Regions from separate parts of the Homo sapiens genome. Here region 1 is linked to region 2. The links are contacts of gene promoters, found by promoter capture Hi-C in human tissues and cell types (Jung and others, 2019). All regions are on one chromosome and are shown on one strand. Each heading gives the region's core, a stretch centred on a gene start or on the middle of the fragment in contact. The rest is flanking DNA. Distances are from core to core; before and after follow the strand shown. Region 1 overlaps AHI1-DT (AHI1 divergent transcript). Region 2 holds the start of PEX7 (peroxisomal biogenesis factor 7).

Region 1 (3,141 bases), core at 425-2,924, 1.3 Mb before region 2:
ATATCCTTTGCCCACTTTTTGATGGGGTTGTTTGTTTTTTTCTTGTAAATTTGTTTGAGTTCATTGTAGATTCTGGATATTAGCCCTTTGTCAGATGAGTAGGTTGCGAAAATTTTCTCCCATTTCGTAGGTTGCCTGTTCACTCTGATGGTAGTTTCTTTTGCTGTGCAGAAGCTCTTTAGTTTAATTAGATCCCATTTGTCAATTTTGGCTTTTGTCGCCATTGCTTTTGGTGTTTTAGACATGAAGTCCTTGCCCATGCCTGTGTCCTGAATGGTAATGCCTAGGTTTTCTTCTAGGGTTTTTATGGTTTTAGGTCTAACATTTAAGTCTTTAATCCATCTTGAATTAATTTTTGTATAAGGTGTAAGGAAGGGATCCAGTTTCAGCTTTCTACATATGGCTAGCCAGTTTTCCCAGCACCATTGATTATATAGGGAATCCTTTCCTCATTGTTTGTTTTTCTCAGGTTTGTCAAAGATCAGATAGTTGTAAATATGCGGCATTATTTCAGAGGACTCTGTTCTGTTCCATTGATCTATATCTCTGTTTTGGTACCAGTACCATGCTGTTTGGTTACTGTAGCCTTGTAGTATAGTTTGAAGTCAGGTAGCGTGATGCCTCCAGCTTTGTTCTTTTGGCTTAGGATTGACTTGGTGATGCAGGCTCTTTTTTGGTTCCATATGTACTTTAAAGTAGTTTTTTTCCAATTCTGTGAAGAAAGTCATTGGTAGCTTGATGGGGATGGCATTGAATCTATAAATTACGTTGGGCAGTATGGCCATTTTCACGATATTGATTCTTCCTACCCATGAGCATGGAATGTTCTTCCATTTGTTTGTATCCTCTTTTATTTCCTTGAGCAGTGGTTTGTAGTTCTCCTTGAAGAGGTCCTTCACATCCCTTGTAAGTTGGATTCCTAGGTATTTTATTCTCTTTGAAGCAATTGTGAATGGGAGTTCACTCATGATTTGGCTCTCTGTTTGTCTGTTATTGGTGTATAAGAATGCTTGTGATTTTTGTATATTGATTTTGTATCCTGAGACTTTGCTGAAGTTGCTTATCAGCTTAAGGAGATTTTGGGCTGAGACAATGGGGTTTTCTAGATATACAATCATGTCGTCTGCAAACAGGGACAATTTGACTTCCTCTTTTCCTAATTGAATACCCTTTATTTCCTTCTCCTGCCTAATTGCCCTGGCCAGAACTTCCAACAGTATGTTGAATAGGAGTGGTGAGAGAGGGCATCCCTGTCTTGTGCCAGTTTTCAAAGGGAATGCTTCCAGTTTTTGCCCATTCAGTATGATATTGGCTGTGGGTCTGTCATAGATAGCTCTTATTATTTTGAGATACGTCCCATCAATACCTAATTTATTGAGAGTTTTTAACAATCCGAGTCTCTGATAAAACAGACTTTAAACCAACAAAGATCAAAAGAGACAAAGAAGGCCATTACATAATGGTAAAGGGATCAATTCAACAAGAAGAGCTAACTCTCCTAAATATATATGCACCCAATACAGAAGCACCCAGATTCATAAAGCAAGTCCTGAGTGACCTGCAAAGAGACTTAGACTCCCACACAATAATAGTGGGAGACTTTAACACCCCACTGTCAACATTAGACAGATCAACGAGACAGAAAGTTAACAAGGATTCCCAGGAATTGAACTCAGCTCTGCACCAAGCGGACCTAATAGACATCTACAGAACTCTCCACCCCGAATCAACAGAATATGCATTTTTTTCAGCACCACACCACACCTATTCCAAACTTGACCACATAGTTGGAAGTAAAGCTCTCCTCAGCAAATGTAAAAGAACAGAAATTATAACAAACTGTCTCTCAGACCACAGTGCAATCAAACTAGAACTCAGGATTAAGAAACTCACTCCAAACTGCTCAACTACATGTAAACTGAACAACCTGCTCCTGAATGACTACTGGGTACATAACGAAATGAAGGCGGAAATAAAGATGCCTTTTGAAACCAACGAGAACAAAAACACAACATACCAGAATCTTTGGGACACATTCAAAGCAGTGTGTAGAGGGAAATTTACAGCACTTAATGCCCACAAGAGAAAGCAGGAAAGATCCAAAATTGACACCCTAACATCACAATTAAAAGAACTAGAAAGCAAGAGCAAACACATTCAAAAGCTAGCAGAAGGCAAGAAATAACTAAAATCAGAGCAGAACTGAAGGAAATAGCAGCAAAAAAAAAAACCCTTCAAAAAATTAATGAATTCAGGAGCTGGTTTTTCGAAAGGATCAACAAAATTGATAGACCGCTAGCAAGACTAATAAAGAAAAAAAGAGAGAAGAATCAAATAGATGCAATAAAAAATGATAAAGGGGATATCACCACCGATCCCACAGAAATACAAACTATCATCAGAGAATACTACAAACACCTCTATGCAAATAAACTAGAAAATCTAGAAGAAATGGATAAAGTCCTCCACACATACACTCTCCCAAGACTAAACCAGGAAGAAGTTGAATCTCTGAATAGACCAATAACAGGCTCTGAAATTGTGGCAATAATCAATAGCTTACCAACCAAAAGGAGTCCAGGACCAGATGGATTCACAGCCGAATTCTACCAGAGGTACAAGGAGGAACTGGTACCATTCCTTCTGAAACTATTCCAATCAATAGAAAAAGAGGGAATCCTCCCTAACTCATTTTATGAGGCCAGCATCATCCTGATACCAAAGCCGGGCAGAGACACGACCAAAAAAGAGAATTTTAGACCAATATCCTTGAAGGACATTGATGCAAAAATCCTCAATAAAATACTGGCAAACGCAATCCAGCAGCACATCGAAAAGCTTATCCACCATGATCAAGTGGGCTTCATCCCTGGGATGCAAGGCTGGTTCAATATATGAAAATCAATAAATGTAATCCAGCATATAAACAGAACCAAAGACAAAAACCACATGATTATCTCAATAGATGCAGAAAAGGCCTTTGACAAAATTCTAAATTATTATTAAAGCAGGCTTTATCTCTATAAACTTCTCTCCTAAAACTAATTTTGCAGCATCTCATAAGTTTTGGTATGCTGTGTTTTCATTTTCATTTGTCTCAAGTTTTTAAAATTTCTTTTTTGATGTCTTCTTTGACCTATT
Region 2 (3,496 bases), core at 1-2,500:
TAAGACTCTTCATGATCTAGCCCCAGTAAAACACTCTACAGTCTCCCCACCCAATATTTTTTTCACCGTATCCCTTCCATCTGGCCAGGCTGAGTCCTGGCAGCCACGACCCCCTATGGATCATGCTGGTTTAAATCTCCTGGGTTGCTCATGTTATTCCTGCTCCTACAAAGATCTCCATCTTCTTGTCTACCTAAAGAAAACCTACTCATCTGTGTGCAATCACCATAAAGACTTATCTCTCTTCTGCAGCCTTTCCTGCAATTTCCATACCTCTGGCACGGACAATCACCTTTTAAAAATACCCCATATAAATTTATCATAGCCTCTACAGTATTTTGATTACACTTAACTAATTACATGACTTCTCTTTTAGTCTTCTTCTCTAATCTCTTGAGGCCATGGACCATATCCCATTATTTTGAATCCCAAATGCCTAGTACTGTTCTTGGTATATGGTTAAGATGATCATACGACTTGGTTTGTGCCTGTTGACCTGGCTTAATAATTACACCCTCTTTACTCTCAAAAGTATCTTGGTTTGGCAGATAAATTATATTTGGTCATTCTCCACATAGTATATGCCTGGCAATAAATGAATGAATGAGCACCAGCATCTGAGCACTTATTACCATACAATATATACATGTATAGTAATACTTTTTAAAAAAGTTGTATATGATGATGTGCTGCTTTTTTGCTTAGCTTCATTAGAACTGGCCAGCTCCTTTTTCTCACTTGCCAAGCATGGGGAGTTGGTTTGGAGTTGGTGTTTCATCTTTTCCAGTTACAGTGTGAAAGTAGCCCACCAGCCCACGCTCTTATTCCTAAAGACCGCAGTGACTCCACGGACTTAAGTTCTCATTGCTTCCAGTTTCCTTGGGCAACGCAGCACGCAATTTTGGACGCGCTGCGTGGTTTCAGAGTCGGCTGTAACTTTTCTCACTTTATAATCATCAGGAAAAGTTCCTGATGCCAGTCTTCCAAACGCTCAATGAAATAAAAACCAGATAGCACCGCAGAGGAGGCTGAGATGCAACGACAAAAGCTGTCGTAATTATTAATAATACCTAACCCTGGATCACTCCCCTGATAGATCTGTATCTTTGCAGCAGGCGCAATTCAGTTTGGATTCACCCAAAACAAAAATGGTCTCCGTCGGAGTCAACGCCCTTTCCTGTGCGGACCAATCAGAATCTCAAACACAGGGCACGGGGCCCACACTTCCGTCCGGTCTGCCTGGTCTCTCTAACCGCGCCAGTGTGCCTCCGACTCGGAACGGCTTCCGCGGCCGGGGCAGCGAGGGCCGGGGGCGGCGGGCGGGATGAGTGCGGTGTGCGGTGGAGCGGCGCGGATGCTGCGGACGCCGGGACGCCACGGCTACGCCGCCGAGTTCTCCCCGTACCTGCCGGGCCGCCTGGCCTGCGCCACCGCGCAGCACTACGGCATCGCGGGTGAGGCGGCGCCGCGCAGCTGGGGCCGGGGGGCGGAGGCGGAGGCGGGGGCCAGCCGGGCTCCAGTTCCTCGCGCTCGAGGGAAAGCCCCTCTGAGCGTAGACGGTTCCGCGGGTCCACGCCAGGGGGCAGAAGAGGCGCTGGTCGGCGCTTCTCCTTTCTTTGCCGAGTGCGAGGAGTTGGTCTGAAGCAGGAGTCGATCTTCCAGTTGTGTGCAAGTGCATATACGTGTAGCCTAGTAGCCCGTGTCCTTGTTCCTTGAGACCGCGCTGCCTCCGCCACGTGTCACACGCCCAGGCACACGTCCCCGTAGGGAGAGCCGGGGGAGCCTGCGCGGTCCCTTGGATCGGTCCGCTCGGCACAGCAGTACGGGGAAGACGGTCTGAGCCAGAACCGACCCAGGGCTCGCGAGTTGGCCCACAATTCCCAGTCTGCATTCGAGCACTGAGCTGCGACCTGCGGGCTGGCCTTCCTAAGGACGATGCTCCTGAATGGACGCCTGGAGTCCCACGGGTGACACCATGAAATATATCAAGTTCAGTTCTTACCTGTAGTTGTCTAACGAGGAATGCACACATTCGCAAGTAGGTGTTACAGACTCCAGTTAATTGTCTCCCGTCGCGCGCATTGGCTCAGCCTGTGGTTAAAGCTGCTCAGGAGGCTGAGGCGGGAGGATCGCTTGAGCCCGGGATGTTGAGGCTACAATGAGCTGAGATCACATCACTCTGCCCCAGCCCAGTGAGCTGAGATCACATCACTCCACTCCAGCCTGGGTGACAGACTGAGACCCCGTCTTAAAAAGAAAAAAGGCCAAGCGCCGTGCGGTGGCTCACGTCTGTAATCCCAGCACTTTGGGAGGCCGAGGTGGGCGGATCACTTGAGTTCGGGAGTTCCAGACCAGCCTGACCAACATGGAGAAACCCCATCTCTACTGAAAATACAAAATTAGCCGGGCGTGGTGGCGCATGCCTGTAATCCCAGCTACTCGGGAGGCTGAGGTAAGAGAATAGTTTGAACCCAGGAGGCAGAGGTTGCGGTGAGCCGAGATCGTGCCATTGCACTCCAGCCTGGGCAAGAAGAGCAAAACTCCGTCTCAAAAAAAAGAGTCCATCTAGTCCGTGGACTAGATGAAAAGGCGTAGGTTCATTCTCGCTTTTGCCTTAATTCATGTCCTAGCTATTATACGCACTGAAGCGAGATGCAAAAACTCATTTCATAATGTCAGTGGTCTATTGTATTTTTTTGTTTTGTCCTACAGCAGAAAAAAATGTTACTTCTAAAACTCAGAGAAATACTTGATTTATTTTCATTATTAGCTCTTAGTGCTTGCACATTCAGATTTACATGGCCCACCAGTTAGACTGAAGACTCATGAGTCTATAATGGTAGTAGTTTTCTTTTTTTCTTTTTTCTTTTTCTCTTTAGAGACAGGGTCTCACCCTGTTGCCTAGGTTGAGTAGAGTGGTGCAATCACAGCTCACCGTAGCCTCCACCTCCTGGGCTCATATGATCCTCCTGTCTCAACCTCACCAGTAGCTGGGACCACAGGCATGTACCATCACACCTGGCTAATTTTTGATTTTTTATTTTTGTAGAGACAGGGTATCACTATGTTGCCCAGGCTGGTCCGGAACTGGGTGCAAGCGATCTTCCTGCCTTGGCCTCCCAAAGTGCTGGGATTACAGGCGTGAGCCACTGTGACTGGCCTGTAATGCTACTTAAAATCTTATGCAAAAACTCTTTAAAGGGAATTGGTATTTAAAAAAAAAAATTCAGTCATGTTTAAATAGAAGAGATTTTCCCCCTTGGTCTCTATAAAAAGTAAACATAACTTTTAAAATACAATGGCCCTTTGGTAAAATAATCTTTGACAGGTAACATATTAATACTGTTTTCAGCACTTTATTACCACCAGTTATGTAGTAAATCCCACCAAGTATCTCCGCATTCATATTTTGTTTTAAAATCCTGTGTGAGATGTGTTTTAGATTTACTGGTGAGGAGTGCAGTCCCTGGGGTCTGTAAGCCAGAGGTTTCTCATC

The links. The method cuts DNA at HindIII sites, captures the fragments that hold promoters and counts their contacts. A contact is called where the count stands out against the background at its distance.
Region 1: a fragment that was not itself captured here is called in contact with the fragment with the promoter of PEX7 in region 2 in 1 of the 25 tissues and cell types used here (dorsolateral prefrontal cortex).

What each region holds. Positions count from the first base shown.
Region 1 is chr6:135,510,255-135,513,395 of GRCh38, forward strand. All of the region lies in intron 2 of AHI1-DT (AHI1 divergent transcript), which reads left to right. Among named protein-coding and RNA genes, the nearest start is that of AHI1-DT, 14 kb to the left of the region's middle. The HindIII fragment of the contact is 5,571 bases long and covers 1-3,141 here.
Region 2 is chr6:136,821,342-136,824,837 of GRCh38, forward strand. PEX7 (peroxisomal biogenesis factor 7) reads left to right here and starts at 1,251. Exons shown (of 10, transcript NM_000288.4): 1 at 1,251-1,454. The coding sequence starts at 1,325. RefSeq lists enhancers at 822-971, 855-1,587, 1,588-2,320, 1,702-1,861 and a silencer at 1,152-1,531. The HindIII fragment of the contact is 8,253 bases long and covers 1-3,496 here.